Linked DNA regions of Homo sapiens: regions 1, 2 and 4 are each linked to region 3. Evidence: promoter capture Hi-C in 16 types of primary human blood cells and fetal thymus (Javierre and others, 2016). All regions are on one chromosome and are shown on one strand. Each heading gives the region's core, a stretch centred on a gene start or on the middle of the fragment in contact. The rest is flanking DNA. Distances are from core to core; before and after follow the strand shown. Region 1 overlaps UBE2V2 (ubiquitin conjugating enzyme E2 V2). Region 2 overlaps PRKDC (protein kinase, DNA-activated, catalytic subunit). Region 3 holds the start of PRKDC (protein kinase, DNA-activated, catalytic subunit). Region 4 overlaps PRKDC (protein kinase, DNA-activated, catalytic subunit).

What was found. The method cuts DNA at HindIII sites, captures the fragments that hold promoters and counts their contacts. A CHiCAGO score of 5 or more calls a contact.
Region 1: a fragment that was not itself captured here is called in contact with the fragment with the promoter of PRKDC in region 3 in 1 of 17 cell types (naive CD4 T cells); the score reaches 5.4 in naive CD4 T cells.
Region 2: a contact is called between a fragment that was not itself captured here and the fragment with the promoter of PRKDC in region 3, in 12 of 17 cell types (erythroblasts, neutrophils, activated CD4 T cells and 9 more). The highest score is 12.9, in erythroblasts.
Region 4: a fragment that was not itself captured here is called in contact with the fragment with the promoter of PRKDC in region 3 in 12 of 17 cell types (erythroblasts, activated CD4 T cells, fetal thymus and 9 more); the score reaches 14.1 in erythroblasts.

Annotation. Positions count from the first base shown.
Region 1 is chr8:48,049,339-48,052,038 of GRCh38, forward strand. UBE2V2 (ubiquitin conjugating enzyme E2 V2) reads left to right here. Exons shown (of 4, transcript NM_003350.3): 3 at 515-640. Among named protein-coding and RNA genes, the nearest start is that of UBE2V2, 42 kb to the left of the region's middle. The HindIII fragment of the contact is 3,323 bases long and covers 1-2,700 here.
Region 2 is chr8:47,831,885-47,834,584 of GRCh38, forward strand. PRKDC (protein kinase, DNA-activated, catalytic subunit) reads right to left here. Exons shown (of 86, transcript NM_006904.7): 59 at 2,312-2,512; 60 at 1-42. Among named protein-coding and RNA genes, the nearest start is that of CEBPD, 95 kb to the left of the region's middle. The HindIII fragment of the contact is 8,728 bases long and covers 1-2,700 here.
Region 3 is chr8:47,958,862-47,961,618 of GRCh38, forward strand. It overlaps PRKDC (protein kinase, DNA-activated, catalytic subunit), which reads right to left and starts at 1,275. Exons shown (of 86, transcript NM_006904.7): 1 at 1,112-1,275. The coding sequence starts at 1,265. It overlaps MCM4 (minichromosome maintenance complex component 4), which reads left to right and starts at 2,080. Exons shown (of 17, transcript NM_182746.3): 1 at 2,080-2,153; 2 at 2,270-2,353; 3 at 2,655-2,757. The coding sequence starts at 2,284. RefSeq lists an enhancer at 744-903 and silencers at 1,084-1,133, 1,144-1,443, 2,114-2,513. The HindIII fragment of the contact is 8,899 bases long and covers 1-2,757 here.
Region 4 is chr8:47,855,901-47,858,600 of GRCh38, forward strand. It overlaps PRKDC (protein kinase, DNA-activated, catalytic subunit), which reads right to left. Exons shown (of 86, transcript NM_006904.7): 48 at 2,616-2,700; 49 at 1,256-1,399. Among named protein-coding and RNA genes, the nearest start is that of PRKDC, 100 kb to the right of the region's middle. RefSeq lists an enhancer at 1,950-2,449. The HindIII fragment of the contact is 2,598 bases long and covers 37-2,634 here.

The DNA of each region.
Region 1 (2,700 bases), core at 174-2,673, 91 kb after region 3:
GTTATCCAACAAGACCCTTTTGAGAATGAAAGGAGGCACTGTTAATAGTCAATTCTGGGACAATAGGAATAAGCAGAACTGTTCTGTAAAACAGAAACCTTCATATATGTTTAACACAAGTCTCAAGTAGCCCCTCCCTCTACAATGTAAACTTTTTAGCAAAATCTAAATTTAAGTGGTTTGCTTTTTCGTTTTTCCTTCTTCGTTCTAATTTGTTACAGGCATCATTTTTATCACAAAAGCAACTTGGGATCATATTGATAATACTTTGTAGAATTAATTTTGTAAAATCTCATGGAATTAATTTTGTAAAATCTCAATTTTTAAGTATGCTTATTGCATTTTTTCTCACCATATAGGTGAAATAAATTTGAATGTAGAAAAATAAATTCTTAATCATAAACACTGTCTTACGTACATTCATATTGTACTTTCCCTTTTTTTTTTTTAGCACTTAGACATTAATATTTTAGGTATTGTTATTTTGATTATCTTTTTGTTTTTTGCCTTCCAGACAAATTATGAAAACAGAATATATAGCCTGAAAGTAGAATGTGGACCTAAATACCCAGAAGCTCCTCCGTCAGTTAGATTTGTAACAAAAATTAATATGAACGGAATAAATAATTCCAGTGGGATGGTAAGTTAATATAGTCATTTTGGTTTTATATAACATAATGTATAGAGTTATATATTATACGTACACACACCATAATATATGTAAGATATTAATATGTAGTTAGGAGAAAGTTTTTAAAAGAGGACCTTTGTTAAGCCAAAAGTCTAAAGAAGGTTGCATTATGTTGTTTTTCTTTTATTAATATAAATTAGGCCATCCTTAAAAACCTTAATGTACTTGCCTAGAATAGATGCATGTGGTGGTTAAAACTTTTTTTTTCTTTTCTTTTTTTTTTGAAACAGAGTCTCACTCTGTCACCCAGGCTGGAGTACAATTGTGCGATCTTGGCTCACTGCAACCTCTGCCTCCCGGCTTCAAGTGATTCTCCTGCCTCAACCTCCCGAGTAGCTGGGATTACAGGCACCTGCCATCATGCCCAGTTAATTTTTGTATTTTTGTAGAGACGGGGTTTCACAATGGCCAGGCTGGTCTCGAACTCCTGACCTTAGTTGATCCGCCCGGCTCGGCCTCCCAAAGTGCTGGGATTACAGGTATGAGCCACTGTGCCTGGCCAAAAGTTTTCTTAGGGTTTTAATTGCCTTAATAGTCATATTTCAGTTGATCTTTATTTGGTAAAAAGATGACCATTATTGGGCGGGGCATGGTGGCTCACGCTTGTAGAGATTGTGCCACTGCACTCCAGCCTGGGTGAAAGAGCGAAACTCCGTCTCAAAAAAAAAAAAAAAAAGAGATGATCATTATTTCTCTTTGAATGTTACTTTTCTGAGGGTTAAGGTACATTTGGTGGGATTAAAAGGATGACTGTTCATGAAAAGGATGAATATTCATGAAGGGTTTTTTTCTTTAAAGAGCAAATATGTCTGTGTTGAAACAGTCATGGCTGAGCATCATTGTCTATTTATTTTTGGGTTTCACTCTGTCCCCCAGGCTGTAGTGCAGTGGTACTCCCCCACTTCCTGTGGCCTCAAGTGATTCTCCCACTTCAGCCTCCCAAGTATGTGAGACTACAAGGCACATGCCACCAAGCCCATCTAATTTTTGTATTTTTTGGTAGAGATGGGGTTTCGTCATGTTGGCCAGGCTGGACTCAACTCCTGACCTCAAGTGATCTGCCCACCTTGGCCTCCCAAAGTGCTGGGATTACAGGCGTGAGCCACTGTGTCCAGCCCATTGTCTCTTTAAACAAAATGACATGCCCTGCTTGACCCACACAAGTTAGTTAGTAGAAACAGCTGAATTTCCAGTATGAGTAGATTGTTAAGTTCATGATAAGTCTTTGAAGCCTAGGCTCTCTTGGTGCCATGTTGAGAGCACGCCACATACAAAATACATTTTAGGAAGCAAAATAACATATCATCATCATAAAATGAGTATCATCCATCTTAGGAAATAGGGCCTCAGTATCCTTGATTTCTCATCCCATCCCTGCGTTCCCTCTCTCTACCAGTGTATTTTGTACTACAAATGTATCACATATGTACACAAATTCATCCTCCTTTCTTCTCTCCTTCTCTCTTTCCTTCTCATCTGTTTACCATCTGTTAAAAATCACGAGTTTATACTAACAACTCCCACTAATTTTATTCTAAAACTATAGGGTTTGTTCTATGATTCTTCCTTTCCAGTTGAGAAACCTGGCTCCCATGCTTCCCAGTGCATTTACTTATTTGCTCAATTTCCCCTTCATATAACTGTACTTCTGGCAACAAGTTGAATCTTGGATTCACAGCCAGCTCCCTGCCCCTCAACCCCAACCTAATACGCAGGTCTGAGGCGGGGCCCCAGATTGGCTGGTGCATCCAGCAGGGAGGCACCAGGCCAAATAAAGCATGACCCTGAGAAAGGAAGAAGCTGGGAAAGGTCATTGGAAACCTTAGCCCTGCACCTGCTGGGCCATTAACACCCCCCCACCCCTGTGCCAACTCAGAGCTGGGACCTGAGAGTCTCTCCAGCCCTCACAGTCCTCAGTTGGTCAGTCTTTGTGATTTACTGGGAGCATTTAGTCCATTTACATTTAATATTCTTAATTACTGACATGTTCAGGTTTAAACAGATCATCT
Region 2 (2,700 bases), core at 28-2,527, 130 kb before region 3:
ACCGTCTGCGCAGTCGTAGTAGGTCCGTCCGGCCGGCCGCACCTGGAGAGGGAAAGCAGGCCCAGTTACTCCCCGCCGCCCAGACACTTGGCTCTGCTGGTTCATTTTCACCTCGGGTTTCCTCAAAGACAAAACCTACAGGTGCCGCAGAGGCAGCGACCGGGAGCAGGAGTGCAGGGGCCACAGCTGCAACTGGAACTGCTCAGCAGTGGATTCAGCAGGCATGAGCGCTGAACGGGCCAGGCCCCTCCAGAGGGAGGCCCAGGGAGGGCACGCAGCCACCTTCTGAACCCCCGCCCAACTCGCCTGGCAGTGCTTTGCCTCTGGCTAACTGAACTAGAGAGGAGCTGCCTCGGAGGCTTCAACACCTGGTGCAGACCAGCCTCCCTCGGGACTGTGGCAACCTGACCAGGGACAGGTGACCGCAACACTCCTAACCCGTATGATTCCAAATGCCTGTTTAGTACCCCACCAGGAGACACCAGCCTTAACCTCCAAATCACGACAGGTTCTAAGGAAAGTTTCAAATATGAACAACACAAGCCAAAGTAAGCAACAAGGAAAGAGCAACTGTTAAAAGCAGATCATGCAGGAAAAAATTTCAAAACATGATCATTTATCAGAAAGAGAAGAGTAGGAACTGAAGAAATGTTCAGAGCATGAAAAAAAGCTCATGGAAACTGAAACGTGTCATAACTTAAAAGCACAGGTTGAAAGATAAGGTTGAAGGGATTTCCCAGAAAAGAGGAAAAGGAAAAAATATGACACCTCAGAAGGACACTCACGCAGGTGAGATATCTAAGCACTAGGACTCCAAAAAGAGAAAACAGCAAACTGAGATGAAGAACTCAACAAAATCACCTGTGATGATGCTCCAGAACTGGAAGGTGAGAGTCAGCGGCCTGGAAGCTCCCGCCATATGCCCAGAAAAACAGACTGAAACGGATCTACGCCCAAGGACACTTGTGCGCAATGTCAGAACACTGGTTTAAAAGAGAAGATCCCGAGAGCATCCACAGAGAAAAGACCCACGTTCTCACAAAGCATCCCCAAGGAGGATGGCACCAGGCCTGGCGCCCGCAGCCCTGCAAAGCAGGGAGTCCAGGGGCCCCACGTATGGAGCTCCACAGCAGCACTCCCGCCAGACCACCAAGCCATCAGATCCCAGAGAAAGCTCCCTGCTGCTGACCCCATTCTCAGCACCCAGGTGGCTCCACCTGAACAACCGCCACCAGCACTCCTTCAACTCACAGCACATGCCAAAAGGTGGGCCACACTGACCTCTCCAGGTTCCATTTAGAGAACTGTGTGTGGGCCACAGGTTTGTGACTGAAAAGTATGAGAGAGTGGTGGAGTAAAGCAAGTTTTGTTGCCTGTGTTTCAGTTCCTACGATTAGATAAGAAGGCAGGGAGCTTTGCTTCTAAGTTCTTCTAAGTTTACTTCCACAGAGCTGAGCTTCCCTGCTGGCGCTCCCCCAGGGTTCTGTCATGGGCCCTTTCCTCTCTGCACATGTCCTTCCTCTGGGCCCTTGTTCCCTCCCAGAGCCTCACTTCTTTCTCACAAAAAGCTGCTTCCAGCCTCTCGGCACCCGTCTAGTTCTGGTCATCTGTTAGCCAAGACCAGGTCCTGGTGCCTGCCTCCAGTCCCCATCACTCCACTTCTGCCCCACACAAACCTCAGAGAAGGGCATTCAGTCCCCGTGCCTTCCTCTGCTCGGTGCGTTACAAGGCTGCTTCCTAAAGCTGAAGTTCGACATACACCCCCACACCCACAAGACTGTCCTCACAGCACCCTTTGCCGTTACTCTAGCATGCCCCGAAGCGTCCCTTCACCTGGACTGCAGAATCGATCTGAGCCTACCCACCCTGACACTTCTCCATCCCTGTCCTTTTCATCCTTTCCCTTCCTGCACCCCCAGCTCCAAGGCTCCTCTCAAATGCTCTTCCTCCACCCAGTCTTTTTGGACGCTCTCCTCATTCTCCACCTGTATTAAGCCCTCTAGCCCTAGACCATGCTTGCTAATTCCACCTCTTGTTACAATCACCCCTTTATAAATGCCTCACCCACTCTTACTGCTCCAGAAGATCACTCAACAATGGATCGAGTATAACTTACTGAAGGATTCTTCTGGAACTCCCAGAAAACAATTTCTTCAGCATGGTGAGTGCCTAGGCAACATTAACTGAATTTTAAAGGGCTTGATTACGAATGAGAAGGAAACATGGATACAGTCAGAAATGTCCCCAGACCTGAGCTCTGCAGTAATTTAGTGGGGAAGCTATTTTAAGCACACTCAGCAACCCAGCTTACCTTTCACTTTGTTATCCACCTCGTCCCCTGGAAGGCCCAGCCTTTTTTTCCCAAAATCAGGCCCCACTGACTTCAAGGGTGCTCTCTGTAACCTTTCACTCCTCTTGTGGGCAAACAGCAAGGAGTCAGATGAGGGACTGGTGTGGTCGACCAGCGGGTCAGTGCTGCTCCCGGTCAGCCAATCAAATGAGCTTCTTCCATCTGTGACATGCAATCAGAGAGGTCAGGCACTCAGCATCACCCAGCTCTGTGCACGGGGCAGGACCACCTGCCAGGACACACCTGGTGGCACCCTAGGCCTCCGTGCTCAACTCCAACCCTGGGCAGAGGCTCTGTCAGGTCCCAGGGTATGCCCCAAGGAAAACCAGGTACGTGCGCCTCAGTGCCCC
Region 3 (2,757 bases), core at 25-2,524:
AATAGCTGGGACTACAGGCGCTCGCCACCATGCCCAGTTAATTTTTGTATTTTTAGTAGAGACAAGGTTTCACCATACTGGTCAGGTTGGTCTCCATCTCCTGACCTCAGGTGATCCAGCTGCCACAGCCTCCCAAAGTGCTGGGATTACAGGCATGAGCCACCGCACCGTGCCACATATAGCATCTAGTTTAAACTGTTTAAGTTATTCCTACACCATATTCACTACTAGACCCTCCGGAAGAAAATCTCACCTTTTAATAGGGCACAACATCAAGGTCTGCATACTCGTGTTTTAAAGAAGGAATACAGGAGATCCACATAATTAAGTATTTGAATATTTAAAATGCTAAAAAGAGGCACTTTTACTACAAAGGGGAAAAAGTTCCCACCCAGGCATTGCTAAAGAGTTAAAAGAACATGACTTCAATTACATTTCTTCAATTTTTCTCAAAGTAGGAACGGCAAATAGAGGGGTTTGGAAAAGGTACTGGTGGGATTAGGCGAGATTCAGGTGAAAGAAAATACTTTCTCTTGGCCGGGCCCGGTGGCTCACGTCTGTAATCCCAGCACTTTGGGAGGCCGAGGCGGGGGGATCACGAGGTCAGGAGTTCGAGACCAGCCTGACCAACATGGTGAAACCCCATCTCTACTAAAAATACAAAAAAATTAGCCGGGCGTGGTGGCGCGCGCCTGTAATCCCAGCTACTCGGGGGGCTGAGGCAGGAGAATAGCTTGAACCCGGGAGGCGGAGGTTGCAGTGAGCCGAGATCGCGCCACTTCACTCCAGCCTGGGCGACAGAGCGAGACTCCGTCTCAAAAAAAAAAAAAATTATTTCTCTTGCCCTGCCCCCCACTCTGCATAGCAATGATTGCCATATTAGGGGTCGTTTTCACCAACTTTGGCTTTAAAATATCTTTCCTCTAATACTAGGGGGTAAAAAGCAGTATGACAAATCCCTTTATACACATACACAGAAATTCCCCCAAGAATCTAATTGCTGTACTTCAAAATACCGTCATCTAAACACAGAGAAGCGCCGGGCTGCCCGGCTCCAGAACGACTCGGGAAGCCAGGACCCACCCGCGGCCCAGCTCGGGCCGGTACCCACCCAGCACCGCGGGGCTGCTGCTCAGGACGCATTCCTGCCCCAGGCCGCGGATCAGTTGATGACCGGCCAGGGCAGCACCGCAGCGGTCCGCAGCGGACAAGGTCTCCTGCAGCCGCAGCAGGGAGCAACGCACACCGGCTCCGGAGCCCGCCATGCCGCCGAGTCCCGCTCCCGCGCGTGCGCCCGCTCGGCCCGGACCCGGAAATGCCCCTACGCGCGGAGGCGGGGCTGCGGGGCGCGGCGGCAGGAACTTTCCCGGGGACCCCTGCGGGAAGGCCTGGCCAGTAAGCGCGCCTCTTTGGCCCGAATCAACATGGAAACCTAAGGAAAAACGTCTGACCTGCGGAGGTAGTTTGGGTGGCTACTTGGTGTTGGACTTGGCTAAATAAATACCAGAGGCAGATAAAACAAGCGAGGGGCCTAGGTCAAGAGTTCCAAGTTTGTTCCTCGATAAAAAACGACAAACGCGGTCGGGGGCGGTGATGCCCGCCTGCAGTCCCAACACTTTAGGAAGCTGAGGCGGGGGGATCGCAGGAGTTCGAGACCAGTCTGGGCAACATAATGAGACCATCCCCACCACCTCCCGTCCTTAATTTTTTTTAATAAAAAAAATCTTTAAGTGAGAAATGCATCTGTAATGTCCTTATTAACCAAAAACGCCTAAGGGATAAAGAAGCACACGCTCCCTAGCCAACGCTAGAGGAACACACCCCGAGAGCTGGTGCTGTAGGACCCAGTTTTCCCGCGAAAACGCTGCCGCGCAGGGGGTCAGACCATCTGGACCAAGGGGGGCCGAGCGAGGCCTACTTCTGGTTTACGCACGGGCGCTGAAAGAAGCGGCACTGTCCCCCCCTGCCGATGCGCAGTGGCGCCTCCCGGAGGCGGAGCCACGTACGAGCGCCGCTGTGATTGGTGAGGCCCCGCCAGGGGCGGAGACGACCTTGCCGCCGGCGGGAACTCTGGGTCTCGCGGTTTGGGAGCGCTACTCGCCAGGTGGACTCGGAGTCCGCGAGCGTCGTCGGCAAGCGGCCGCCTTTCCACGGTAACCGCGCGCCGGCGGGGAGGGCGTGGCGCGGAGCCGACGGGAACGTCCGCGCTGCGGAGCAGGGCAGGGAAGCCGGGAGGCGGGCCCGGCCCGAGCTTGTCCTTGTCGCGCAGGTACTCCGAGCACTATGTCGTCCCCGGCGTCGACCCCGAGCCGCCGCGGCAGCCGGCGTGGAAGGGCCACCCCCGCCCAGACGCGTGAGTCCCCCGAGCCGGGCCCACTACAGCCCCCGGCGCCGCCCCGTCTGCCCTCTCGCCGCAGCTGGCAGCGCTGGGTGGGTGCGCGGGACCCGGGCGCTCAGCCTCGGGCTGGGCGCTGCCGCTTGGTGCGCACAGACACCCACAGCAGGCTGTGGCCTGGGTGCTGCTTAATTCGATTGCCATTTGCCTCTGTTTGGTTTGGTTCAGTGGTGAGTCATAATGCCCCAAGGAAAAGACAAATCCAGGAAGGCCGGCCCTGAAAGTTAATGGCTGTCTTTTCTGTTTTGTGTGACACAAGCTCGGAGTGAGGATGCCAGGTCATCTCCCTCTCAGAGACGTAGAGGCGAGGATTCCACCTCCACGGGGGAGTTGCAGCCGATGCCAACCTCGCCTGGAGTGGA
Region 4 (2,700 bases), core at 86-2,585, 100 kb before region 3:
TTAGCCTCTCACTCCCATGACTCCAGAGTGAGTAAAAGCTTCACGGCAACCTTTCTGGCTTGCTGTTGCTTTATTCAGCTACCTCGAGCCCGGCAGTTCCACTCTCTTGAGTTCAGCTGAGCCACTGACAGCTACATCAATCTCTTTCAACGGACCCTTGTTAAACTGAACCCCTCTTAATTTTTTCATTTTATTAAGCAGAAAACAAAGTATTTCATTACACTAAGACAAAGAAATCTAAATTTGGTTAACTGTGAAACAAATGAGATAGGTACATCCAGAGACAAGCGTGTGAGAAAGCTCCACGTATTTTTTTGTGGTGGGGGGGTGGTGGTGGAGCTGGGGGAACGTAGTCTCACTCTGTCGCCCAGGCTGGAGCTACAGTAGTGCCATTTCAGCTCACCACAACCTCCGCCTCCCGGGTTTAAGCAATTCTCCTGCCTCAGCCTCCCGAATAGCTAGGATTATAGACATGCAGCACCATGTCCAGTTAATTTTTGCATTTTTTTAGTACAGATAAGGTTTCACCATGTTGGCCAGGCTGGTCTCAAACTCCTGACCTTAAGTGATCTGCCTGCCTTGGTCTCCCAAAGTGCTGGGATTACAGGTGTGAGCCATCATGCCTAGCCCCGCATGTGTATATTATATTTAATACAGACTGTTCTTACCATCTCCTCACATGAAAACGTTTGTATGCTGTCAGTGTCCACAGTTTTAAATGAGTAGGCAAAGCACCAACACACACACACATGTCTACACTGGTGGGTACTGCATTTGCCTCAACATAACATGGTGTTATCATCTGGCAGCTACTGCTTTAGCCCTAATCTTGCCATTGCTGGTATTAGTCAATACTCTGGGAGTAGAGAAGATGGCACAAATGCCAAAATCCAGGGACTTCAAGGCAGGAGTCCTCAGAGCCTCCCATTCAGGGTTGGTTGAAATTCAGTTTACACATAGTTTTAATAAATTTGCAATCTCATTTCTAAGGCAAGTAAAGGCAGCAAACAAAACAAAACAAACACCTGACAGCTTCATAATAAAAGCAAGGTCAGACGAATTACCAAAGGCAAAGGAAACAAAACAAAACCAAAGCAGGCTGAGGCCATTTGGTTTAGGAGCACACCAGCAATGTAGCAACAAATGCTGAAAACCATAGCACAGTCAGTGAGAGGGACCTGAATTATGTGTCATAGGCTCTATAGGCTATTGGCAAAGGATAATATATTAACATAAAAGATGCATCAATCCTTACTGTTGGAGTGGCCAAGCCTGTCCATGAAAGAATAGTGGCCACTATCTCAACCACCATGTAGTGAATTCCTTCTCCTCCATTGTTTTCAGAAGCAGCCAGCTGCAGCAAGGGGCTAAGCCAGTGCTTCGCGTAAGGGCGAAAGACCTACAAGAGGATGTAAAAGTCAAACATCAAAGAATGGTCTTAAATTGCCAAAATATTAATACAAGACTGTATCTTCCATCAGCTAAAATTTTATACTATGACTGGACCTAAAGCCAAAAGCGAGGTAAGCACGTTAAAGTGAAGGCATTAGTGTGGGCCCTAATCAAATATGACTGGTGTCCTTATTAAAAGAGGAAATCAGGACACAGAGACAGATACAAGGGGGAAGATGAGGTGAAGACACAGGGAGAATGCCTGTGACACACCACATAGTGCTTGAGGCTGCCGGATGCTAGGAGTAGCCTGGACCAGGCTCTCTCATAGCTCTCGAAGGAACCAACCCTGCCAGCAGCTTGATCTCAGGCCACGGCTGTCTGAGTCCCCCCAGTATGGCACCCTGAGACCATGTGCCCAGGGTGTGAAGAATCAAGTGAGCCCCGAGGAAAGAAGGTGCTGCTGCAGCCCTAGAGCAGCCTGTCAGGGATGTCCTGACAGACTCGCCATGTCTGCAGAGCTGCCCAGAATGACCTTCTACGGAGCCAAGTGGATGGTGTCACCCCACCACTTAGTGCCCTTAGTGGTTCCCTGGTGCTCAATGAATGAGCCCAACCCTCTGCATAGCTCTGGATGGCCTGGCCTGGCTCTGGTCCAGACCACACTCCCACAGCCCAGGCAGTCAGTGCAGACCTGCTTGGCTCACCCAGGGACCACCCGTGCTATGCTACTCCTTCCCTGCCTAGTGCAAACTCTCACTGCACTTCACCACGTCTAGCTCAAAGGCCTTTCCAAAATGGACTCCAAGATGCTCCTACCTCACGAACTCAGCAATTGCCTAAGAGTCCGCTGTTTTTCATATAGAGTTAACAGGAATATTTTCTCCCCCGCTCCACCCCCCGCTTTTTTTTTTCCTACTATAAGGAAAGAACGTTGGCAGCCGTAAGAAAGCAGCTACATGTACTTTATACAAAGACCACTTCTAACTCACGAGAGGTGAATTTACATATGTTAAAAACGATAAAAGAATGGTGATGAACAAGTAGATAAATATTGGGTGGCTAATCAGAGAACAAAAATGTCATGCTCTGCCCCTTTATATTTTCCTTTTTTGTGTGTGTTTTTAAGTATATTCATAGAATTGCAATTGATTCATTCATAGAATTGAATAAACAGACTTACAGAATCTATTCAAAGAATAAAGAAATAATCAATTACTTACCTCTTCTGTATTAATAACAAGCTTGGCTAAGAAGAGACGGATATTTAATGGTACTATTGGATTTCCCAGTTTGCCATGGAGGAAT